Regions from separate parts of the Homo sapiens genome. Here region 1 is linked to region 2. The links are contacts of gene promoters, found by promoter capture Hi-C in human tissues and cell types (Jung and others, 2019). All regions are on one chromosome and are shown on one strand. Each heading gives the region's core, a stretch centred on a gene start or on the middle of the fragment in contact. The rest is flanking DNA. Distances are from core to core; before and after follow the strand shown.

The links. Contacts are between HindIII fragments. The study calls those that stand out against the background at their distance.
Region 1: a fragment that was not itself captured here is called in contact with the fragment with the promoter of SH2D4B in region 2 in 1 of the 25 tissues and cell types used here (dorsolateral prefrontal cortex).

What each region holds. Positions count from the first base shown.
Region 1 is chr10:81,884,605-81,890,366 of GRCh38, reverse strand. The region is part of intron 1 of NRG3 (neuregulin 3); the gene reads right to left. Among named protein-coding and RNA genes, the nearest start is that of NRG3, 12 kb to the right of the region's middle. The HindIII fragment of the contact is 4,089 bases long and covers 1,983-5,762 here.
Region 2 is chr10:80,536,562-80,542,242 of GRCh38, reverse strand. It overlaps SH2D4B (SH2 domain containing 4B), which reads right to left and starts at 4,341. Exons shown (of 8, transcript NM_001388272.1): 1 at 3,728-4,341. The coding sequence starts at 3,911. RefSeq lists enhancers at 781-900, 1,071-1,130, 1,281-1,460, 2,498-2,637. The HindIII fragment of the contact is 9,237 bases long and covers 132-5,681 here.

The DNA of each region.
Region 1 (5,762 bases), core at 2,778-5,277, 1.3 Mb before region 2:
TGGTAACAGATTTTTTTTAAAAATTAATTTAGGGTTTCAAATGTTAAATGGATTCGGCAAGTTTCTCCCTTCCCCACTCCAAACAAACCACTATTGCTTCTAGCCAATCCAAGTAGCCGAAAGGCTTAAACCCTTCCTTGCCATTCTAGAAAGTAATGTTTCAGGTGCCAGTCCCTGCAGAGTTCAGATGCAGAAAGCCTGTCAGAAGGCACCAGGCAGAAGGACTGTGGCTCACAAGCACGTGGTCTACTTGACCTTTTCTCTTTAGGGTTAACATTTTTGTGTTATCTAGTCATTTAGAAGTAATAGAGCTCCTTAGACTTTTACAAGACTCAGCCATTTGCAGTGTATTGGAGGAAACAGCATTTCATTATTTATCATAAATTACTCAGAGCCTCTCACAATGCAAGATGAGCATCAGTGTGGTACCACAAAAGGTCATTTAGAAGCTTACAAAACTCAGTGATGAAGGAGAAACACAGATTTGGATTTGATGCTCATTTTGTTAAAACCCTGATCTACAGCTTCGCCTTCCTTTCAAAAACCTCTTCTGATCAAATACAAAAAGACCTGAACAAATAACTTTAAAAAATATATCTTTATCTAAGTCAATAAAATAGATAAACTAAAAATATTCCAAGCAAATAACACTTGTATATGTCAGCTGATGTATTATAAATGTTGACATCAGTGAAAATTACCTGATCAGTGAAAAATAGAAGAGAGATGCCATTGGCTATTAATACTAATTTAACATTTGCTCTTACACAGCGCTATAGCCCCTCTGTCTGGTAACAAGGAGCAACCAAGTAAGCCTGAGCAGGCGAGAGTGATGAACTGGATTCTTATCTGAAGGTTCTTCTTTAGGGTGAAAAACGTGGGTGACTCCACTAATTTTAGCTGCCGATATGTAAATGAACGGATGCAGTTCTCCAGTCCATGACAGGCACTCTCTGGCAGGCCGTGCAAGAGCCTCATCTTATACAGACTCCCAGCATATTCCTCACCATGTGATGAGTACAGAAAGGAATCAACAGCAGCATTCCTTTTGAATCTGATGCGATGTCAGCATTCAATTCCAAAAGGTGCTGAGTGGCTTCTGCAAAGAAGACCTCAGATGGAACCAGAAGGGTGATGTGGCAATCAATTCATAAAGGAGTTTTTGCCTCTGAAAAACCTAAAGACAGTAAGAGGTTAATTTAGGTGAGGCAGTGAAATCAAGAGTTCCTTCTTGTTATTCTTCTTGTATCTCTACTTGCAAATTTTTAGGTATTTGAAAGCTGTTATTTTGGGTTAAATCTAGGGCTTTGTTGATGCGACTATGGATAAACTAAACATCCTTAAAACATGCCAATTCTATTGCTTCTTGCAGCGCTTTGAAGAGGCATTGGAATGAAGTCAATACTTAAATATATCCAGCACAAATCAGAGACAATATCTTTAAATGATTTGGAACAAGTTAGCCTTAGAGAATCTTTAAAATTCGCTGCTCATTCCTCTCTCCAAGTCATCCTGGAAACCTCGCACCTTCTGAAAATACCACAGATATTGTATCACTTCCTTGCAACCCATTCTGACTGTGGCTTAACATAGAATCAAGCTGTGTCCTCCAAAACCCTCCCTCCTTAATCAGGCGCTGCTCCAAGGAAAAGGTGAGGCCGTCTGTCTACCAGGTCAGAACCCTCACTGGCTCCCATATAGGTGGGTACATGCAAACTTCTACCTTTATTAATGACCTTTCCCTCCCTGGGCCTCCCTTCTCTATTACTCTGCCTAAGGAAATTCTCCCTTGAAACTACCTTTCTCCCTCTAAGCACTACTTTCTGAAATGGCCTCATATGCTTTTCATTTGGAATCACACATTTCAGCACTTAATGATTCTTTGGTGCATATCTTCTGATCTTCTCAACAAAAACCACAGATGCAGATGATGAATTATCTTTCTTGTGTATATCACACTTTAATGTTTGCAGAACTGTAATAATGCCATTCTCAGGATACAAGTGGGGTTTTACATGTGTTAAGATATGTGAAAAGTGTCGCAATGTGTTATATCAGGAACACTCCTGATATGAGTGAAATAGGGTTTTATTGAATATAAATACAAGGTGTCCACTCAGAAAGGCTTACGTCAAAAGGGAATGTGGGTGTTTGCATGAAGTCTCACTAAGAGGGGATCCTGAGAACAAAGGAAAATGCTGAAGCCAGGAAGACCCTCTTTGCATCTGCTGGACTGTGAGACACCAACAACAAACTTTCAGAGCTACCATCCAGTCTCTGTACATGGAAAAACCTATAAACTCAGGCCACCACCCTGGTTGCATGAAGTGGTAAAGGCCAAAGGAATGTTCCTGAAGTTTTCTCTTATTTTTTCAAGTTAGTATTGATGTATACAAAAAGTGCACAAATCAAAAGTATAGAAGTTACTAAATTTTGATGAAGTGAACTCACTCATGTAACCAGCACCCATATCAAGCAGCACAATATTATCAATACAGGAAAACCTACACCTGGGTCCCCTTCCATTCACTACCTGCCCCTCCTCCCCAAAGATAATCACCATCTTGACTTCTAATTGTTACACAGTATATAAATAGAATCATATATTTGTTCTGGCTCTTTTGGACCAACATTGCATTTGTGAACTATTTGAAGGACTTTGAGCACAACTCATCACCAAACTTATGGGTCATGTGCCCTACAAATCACCACTCTCCTATGGACTCTGGAGTCTGTCTATGTTCCAGCCACTGAAAATTAATATAAGAATAAATATCTTATGATTCTGGGAGAGGCTTATAGCATCCAGTAAACCTTTGAACTGGTTATCCCACCCATTCATGTTTGACCAAACATCTCCTTTCTAGTACTCAGCACTGTCAATTAGCCTTTGTGTTCTCTTTTCATTTGATCCTTGGAATAGATCAGATAGTTGATTAATATGTGTATATAACTTATTGATTTCTGTTGGCTATATCCTTGTATAGCAATACTACTAAGACTGTCTAACATCTGCAGACTGGAAGAGCCATTAAGTATCTCATTAAACTCCCATCTTCTATACCCTTATAAAGTCAAGGCTAATCATCAAAGGCCCAGAGTAAGAAACTCTGCCTTCAATAAGGCATTATTTCCCATGAGCAAATGGAAATGCATTTGCACTTCTACACATCTGCATTTCACAGCAGCAACCCAACTCCATCAACATTTTAATGCTGACACCACCAATTAAGAAACAAACTCTTTAGACATAAAGAAAAAACAATCTTCACAGAACCAAGACCAATAATTGAACTGATTCATGGAGTATATTCTTTACATTTTTCAAAAGTATAACAACTTCTAATTAGAAAAAAAGATAATTCATGAACAATAACTAAAACTTAGATAATACAAAAAAGTACAATAAATTAAACAGCATCCCTATTCCAAAATCCAGAAAGAACTACCATGAACAATTTGGTATACTTCCTTTGAATACAGTTACTATATATTAAATCTAGTGACCAGTAAAGCTTAATATCATGGATATCTTATATAATTTTCTACCCAAAGTTTTAGATAAAAATTATATACCAAACATTTCCCGAAAGCTTTAAAATTAGTACAACAAAATTTAATAGCTTTGTAATATCTATCACATGGGTAAACAAAATTTATTTTACTTATTATTTTAACTTAAAACATACAAATGCACATTCACTTGCCAAATATTTGGTTATAGAGCTCAAGGCTTTTCTCTGAGTAAACATCTGTTGTCCTTCTTATGAAAAACCATACCCATAATGTATAATGTGATTTTTCCAGTTTAGTTTATTGTGGAATAAAATCTTAACATGTGAAACAATACAAGTGCAAATTTCTTATGGATATATAAATATATTCTCGTTAAACTTCTCACAACTTTGTCAAGTAGAAGAAGCACTTTTTTTAAAGTGACTTATGTTTATGGATTATATCCAATGTAATGAACTTCGTTTTAATAGAAACCACAATTCACAGATTTATAGAATACTTAAATGCATTACCCAATTACAGTAACAAAAACAATCAGCATAAACAGGTTTGGGAGCTAATATAACTAATACCTGTTAACCAAGGCAGCTTTCATTTGGTTAAGACAGAAGTGCTACCAACTGTACCTGCTCGGCATGGAGTGGGCATTTGTCAGAAGTTTTTGTTTTTGTTTTTTAATTTTATTTAAGTTCTGGGATACATGTGCAGGACGTACAGATTTGTTACATAGGTAAACGTGTGCCATGGTGGTTTGCTGCACCTATCAACCCATCACCTATGTATTAAGCCCCGCGTGCATTAGCTATTTATCCTGATGCTCTACCTCCCCCACACCCGAAATGTGTTAGTTTTTTAATCCAGAAACAGAGAGTATCATACTGAAAAGTCAATGAAATAGAATTCAGTCAAGCTATCATTTAATATAAACATTTCTACAGCCCATTTTTTAAAAAATTCTGGTGTCTCTAGATTTTTCCACCATGCTGAAAAAAGCTTTGGTCTAACAATAAATTTGGGCAAACAACCCCAGTGGCCCCCCTCATAGACTAACAATGAGCACAACTGTCATTGTTAGTTTATGGGATTCATTTACAGTCTTACAGGATGTTGACAATACAATCTTTCTGACACTACAGTATTCCTATCCTTCAGCATGGCTATTCAAATGAGTGTCACGTGATCTTAGAACTTGATCTATTTCCATTTTATTTTTATAAGTTTGTAAAAGTAACAATCTCAACTATCTTTTACTTTAACCAAAAGAGAATTTTTTTCTTCTAGCTAAAAGAACACTTGGCAAACAAAAATGTCAAGCAAGTAAGCAATGATTGGGTCTAGTTTGTAGTACCCCCGGCAGAATATCAAGGTCTCACCAATGTTCCCCTTCTTAGAACTGGTAGATAATCAGTGATGGGTACTTCGCAGTGTGGCTCCAAGATGGAATTCAGATGTTCTGCAGCAGGCATTGCATGCAGCTCCAACTCCCATCATTGATTTGGTAGAGTCAGTACTTTAGTGTCTACAGAACTAAAAGGCTATCATTCCAAATGTTCCCTGACACTTTTCCATTGATCAGTCTCAGCATACACTGCAGTCACTATTGTAACCAAAAGTAAGCTTGGAATGGGCAGAGAAGGCAATTTTGACTGGATTTTAGGAAGCAGAGGAATAAAGTCTGTAACTGTTTTCTGTCATTGTTACATTGAATCACCTACAAGCAGCCATAAGAGAAAATAGAGAGTTAAAAAGATCAAGGAACAGAAGTTTAGAGGTAGGGAACTGTTGCTCAATGGGTACAAAGATTTAGTTATGCAAGAGGAATAAGTTCTAGAGATCCGTTGTACAACATAGTACTTAGTTAACAATATAATACTGCATACTTAAAAAAGAAGATAGATTTCATGTTAAATGTTCTACCTAAACAAAATTAAAACCACAAGAGAACACAAGGAAATTTTTGGAGGTGATGGATATGTTTAGTACCCTGACTGTGGTGACAGCATTAATAGGTATATGCATGTCCAAACTCATCGATATGTACACATTAAATATGTACAATTTTTTGTACAGTCATCCTTTGGTATTCCAGGGGGGAATAGTTCCAGGATTCCTCTCCCCCAGGATATCAAAATCCTAGGATGCCCATGTCTTTTACATAAAATGGCCTGGTATTTGCATATAACCTAAGGATAGCCTCCCATATAGTTTCAGTCATCACTAGAGAACTTACAAGCAGTGTAAATGCT
Region 2 (5,681 bases), core at 3,092-5,591:
ATTCCTAACACAGGATGTGCATTCCTGTGGTGGCCAAGGAGAATGAGGAGAGAACGAGCTTGCACAGGTCGTGGCCATGCTAGAGGGGTTTGACTGAAGTCTTGCTGGGACATAATGTGATAACATGCCTTCTCTGAGTCTCAATATACTCAATATACTGGACAACGAACTTTGTCAGAAACGTGATAGCACAATAAGCATGATGTTAGATTTAAAAAACCTACCAAGCTGAGGGGTCCACACCATCCACCACAGCATAGAACATCAGAGGGTTCTTGCCAAAGCGTAAAGTGAAAACAGAAAAGAAATGCCATGTGCTCAGAGGAGTGATGTGTCCAGCCGTGCCCTCATCTCCTCTCCTTCCTACCTTTCACAGTCCGCCTCTAAGCTTTCACCCAAGCTTACTTCTGTGGGTTCCAAATGTGGATCTCAGAATCAAGAAAACCTCCTAGGTTCTGTAAACGAGAATGATTCACATCACCAGTGTTTACTCGCACCCTCACCAGGCACAACTCCGGGGCTGTGAGGTTCTCAGGCACAAGGCACACCTTGTCCTGCCTGCCTGTCTGTAGGGACATGGGGAGTGTTACTTGAGCCCAAGGGATGGCAAAGCCAGGCTTGCCAGGAGCGAGGAATGTTCCCAGAAAAGAGGGGAGAGGGAAGGCTTTAGAGCACTGGGGACGATGGCCCGGAGGAGGCCCAGTGTCACTCTAGGCTGACCAGGACTAACCCACGTCATGCTCAGGGATCCCAAGGGGCCAGCAAACAGCTCAGCAGGGCTACAGCAGGTGCTTCCTTCAGAAAAAAAATGTGTAGGGAGGGGACCAGGAAAGAGGATGCCTGTCAATGAGACAAGAATAGCACTGGGTGGTCACAGGAGCATGGAAAAACCCAAACAACAGCTAAAACAAGAACAAGACAAAGAAACAACAAGATAACAGAAAACCCAAAGGAAGAGAGTAAAAACAGCTGAAATCCCACTCAGGGTGACTTGTCCATGGCTCTTCTGGGCAAACCCAAAGAAGGGAGAAAGGAGACAGTAACCCAGGGGGTTCCCTGAAATCTCCTCCTCTTCCAGAACACCTAATAATTGTTCCATCCCCTAATTAAAGAAACACCCATAAAATTAGAAACCCAGACTCTGCTGGGTGTGACACGTTCTCATGAGCACGCCCGCACTTCTCTCTCAAGTGTGTACTTTCGCTTCTCACTAACAGTTTCTTGCCTTTCCTATCATTCTGACTCATTCCCGAGTTCTTTCTCAAGACAGTTTCAAGAGCCTGGACATCAACTGGGGCTGGGGTCTCACCAGCATCTGGAGAGCCTCCTGAGTCCTCTGGCAACATCAAGGGAAGGAAGAGAAGATTCCTCCGTGGAGCCCGTCCCCGCACAATTCCCGCCCTGGGACACGGCACGGCTGCTTTGAACCAAGCCTCACCCTTGGCACTCGAGTTGGCTGTGTTCCCTATGATCCATCTACCCACCGTCTCCAGGACAAGCACTGCCCCATTCACTGAAATCAGCACATAGTAATGCTGGATAAGTGAATGAATTGGTGAATGAGTGAACAAGTGAATGTGTGCACAGCTCACTTGTTTAATTGGAGTTCCGAGTTTGGAAGTGAATGAACAGAAAAAAAATCAGTCACCAGACCCCAGATCCAAGTCATGAGATGTAGCAGCTGGATGACCTTGGATGTAGCGCATCACTTCTCTGAGCCTCACCTTCCTTATCTGCAATGAAATCAGGGAGCTTGCCCTGCCACCCCGCAGGGACACGGGAGCAGCAAGGGCTGGGTAGGCACCCAGTCAACGTAAAGCTCACAAGTTGTTGCCACCCTTCATCACGACCCCAGGACATGAAGCAGATACTGTATATCCTGGACCCTCCGGCCGAAAGCTCTTCCGGCTCCTGGGCAGGGCCAGCCCCCAGGCTCCCCAGTGGCATGCCCAGACAGTTCCAAAAGGCAGGACCGAAGCAAAGAGCCAGGATCCAAGCGGGATCCTGACCTGGGATACACACATTCCTCGGCGTGCTTTCCTGCTTTTCCATTCTTTATAAATCAGAAAATTAATTACCAGAAAAAGGATCTTCTGCACCAGAAACTCAAATGAGTTTAATGTATAATTTATACATGAAAATGTAGATGTCTATGTGTGACAAATCTCTGTATAAATATTTTTGCAGTTAAATTTTTAGGCATCTGTCTCCCTCCAAGAAGAGTCATCATGCAGGCATCATGAGTCCCCAGGGCTCAGGCCGGGTGGTGCTGGCAAGGTGGCTTGTCATTTCACCAGTTAGTGATGCAGCTGCCAGCGCAGCCCAGCCCGGAAGGCCCCAGCTTTGGCAGCAGCCACCTGCAGCCAAGTCACAGCTCTGCCCCAACCTCCCCGGCAGGGTCCTGCTGTGTCTTGTTCAAAACAAGGATTTAACACCATGTGCCACCTCTGTGCTGGGCCCAGGGGAGGAAGATAGAGTGGAGGAAGCCCTCACACACCAGTGCCTTTGAGCCCATCGGAGAGCCAGGCAAGCAGATGAGGAATGACAATGACAGGGTGGCAAATGCCAGGGCAGGCGTGGGTCCTACATGCCAGGCAGCCACAGAGGAGCAAGTACTGCCCTATGCAAGAGCATCCCTGAACACTCCAGGGCAGGGGGGCCACTCCTGATGGAGTCTGTCAGGTGGATGAAGGCAGAAGGACATTCCCAACGGTGAGAGCCACTCATGTGAAGACCAGAGACAAGAGCAAGCATGTCCAGATGATGTGGGTGTGGCCTGTGGCACCTGGTGGGGACTGGCCAGCAGTGAGCCTGGCATGGAGAAGAGCCAGATCACCAAGGGAGCTGTGTGCTCAGCCCTGAAACAGGACTTTGTTCTGGATTGAAAACTTCAAAGGGTGAAGGCACATAAGCCTTGCAAACTGTAAAGTGCATGCAGCATCCACAGAAACTACAATCCCTGGCAGGATTGAGTCCTGTGCCAAGCCAAGCCTCAGCAGCCTGCCAGTTTCTGGCCCAGGGGTCCTGGATGATTTCCTTCACCCACAGGTGTACCAGTCCATAGGATTGACTGGCACATGACTTTGCATACAAAACACCTGAAATGTAGGCTAGGCCCTTGCTTCTCATCTGCAGTTGCTACGACCATTTGGGGATGGTCATTCATTGTGTGGGACGTTCCCTGATGCCCTCTCTCCGGATGCCCAGTGGGGCTCCAGAGACAACCCACAGCATCCTCCTGCCGGAGGATCTGGAGGGAGAGGCACAGTCCACAGAAGGGGCCCTAGCCAAGAACTGGTGTGCCACGCATGCCAAGGAGAAAGGAACTGCATATCTACACCACACTCTGGCCCAGAACCAATGGCAAGGGTCACAAATATGCCGTCGTTCACCCTACCATTGCCAACCACGTCGGAGCACAATCTGAAGTCTCAATGGTGTCTTCCCAGAACTCGGGCCTTCCACAACAAGACAAAGCAAGTCCCAACTCCCCGACTCCAATAAGGGCCGCTGGACAGCCTCTGCAGCAGCCTCGAAGCCCTAAGGTCCTGGCCAAAAGGCAAAAGCACAGGCTCATGGGACCTGATGCCCACAAGACAAGGGTTTCAAGCCCCCAGCCCTCATCACCCCAGTGCCCATCTTGAAGAAGGGCACAGCCTGGCCCTGCTAATTTTTCTACCTCCTGGGGGACTGGTGGCCTACCTCTCTGTGACTCCCAGCCACGTACCTCGCTTGGTCTTTGGAGGCCTGAGACCCTCGTCCTGGGCCAGGGCCTCCCAAGTCTCCCGCTCCTTCCAGCGCCTCAGCTGCTCCTCCCGCATTTTGTAGAAGAGGATGTGCTTCTGCACATCGCTGAGCTCGGCAAGGAGCTCGGGGTCGATGTACATGTCGTGCAGGATCTGCTGCAGCATGATGCCACCTGGGATGCACGCACCAGAAGGGCAGCCAGCAGGGGAAGCAGGGCCAGGCAGAACGCCCGAGGGGCTGCTCTGCACTACGGACTGCTCAATCCGGGGCCACTCTCGGTGCCCCTTCTCTGTGCAGCATTGTCAGTTGGCCTCAGCTTGCAGCCAGCGACGAACTCATCTCCTCTACCCAGGACAGCAAAAGAGGCCAGGCAACAGGACCCAAAGGGGCAGGTGGGACTCTGCAAGGGGGAGCAACCACCAGGAGCAATCTAGTCCTTCTCCTGGGTCACCAAGCACGGCATCCCAGGAGAGCCCATGTCTTGGCATCACCTGGGGTTCTGAGACAATGGGAAGGGCCCAAGCCTCCAGCTCAGCCAGGAAATGCCCAGTCCCAGCCCTGCCTGGGCTGGTAGGTGTCGAGTGATCTGTTAGTGGAAGGTAACAATGACACCAGCTATATCAATGACACTGCCCCGGCCAGCTGGGAACTGATCTCTCCTCTGCAGATAAGAGGAGGAGAAGGAGGCAGACTTGCCTACTAAATTCCATGTCTTTTCAGCCAATTTCAAACACAGACCAGAGGAGCCTGCCAGAAGCTGCTGGGCCCCTCAGCCCTCTCAGCCCCTCTCTCTGCGGGTTCCTTCGCTGCCAACTTTCTTCCTTTCCAGAACATTTGGCATTCTGAGATGATGCGTTTAAAACTCTGCCTTGGGGGAGGAAAGATTTTTCCTCCTATCTGTGTTACAGCCAAGAAAGAAAACAAAATGGAATCAGTAGAGACAACTGGAGGGGATTTTATCTTGGAATTCCAGGACAGAAAGGAAGCAGACATCCTTTCCCTTTGGCCTATATATAATGAGATCCTGCAGCCATGCGTGGCTGACAGATAAACCCTCCAGGGGCCAGTTTTAATGGTCGTTGTTAATCTTGTTTGTTGCAGATGCCTGGAGTTGACCAAAAAGAAAGAAGATGAAACTGGCTCTTCTCTGTGCCCTGATCAGAAGCACACTGGAATGGCGGGATGTTGCCTTCTGCTGGGAGGGAAGCCACCCTCTCTTTGGTGTGTGAAGGTGGGTAGAAGCTGCCGTTGCTGAGATCTTTAGGGTGAAAGCTCACCCTAAATATGTGCTCAGAGCAAATCACAGATGCCTTCTTATTGGGACAAGGATATTGAAGCTCAGAGAAAGTAAGTGGCTTGCCTATGGCTTCCTAATGGACAAGTCACTGTATTGGGACTCCCCCGTTTTGAAATTTGACATCCACTAGCAACTATGAATCTGTTGATGGTTTGAAAACATAACCCAACCAAGGGAAAACAAACGAACCAACAGGATTTGGCACTGTGGCTTGGTTGGATTGGTGACCTTCCTGTCCCCTTCCTTGCCCATGAGGGTGGAAGGTGGATCAGGTACCCAAGAGTGATGGAAGAGGGGTGGAGAGTTGGCATTCTTCCCCCTCTGCAAGGTTAACACAACAGGAAGATGGACTAAGCAGATTCAGATGAGCTGTAAGCCCATAGGGTCAAAGCTCCTGCTCAGCTAGGCAATGTCCAGGTCACAGGAGTGGAGTCAGACGCCCCACCCCTCCCCACCCAGGTCCAGCTAGCTGGTCCCAGTGTGCCCAGACCTTCCTAGAGCCGCCACAGGACTCGCCTGTCCGCTGCAGAGCTGTGGCCCTGGACTCCCATCCACCCACCTCAGGGCTTGCACCGACTCCCCCACCGGGAGTCCTGGCTCCCCTCAGTTTCTGAGACCGGGGGTCTTCCCTAGCCTC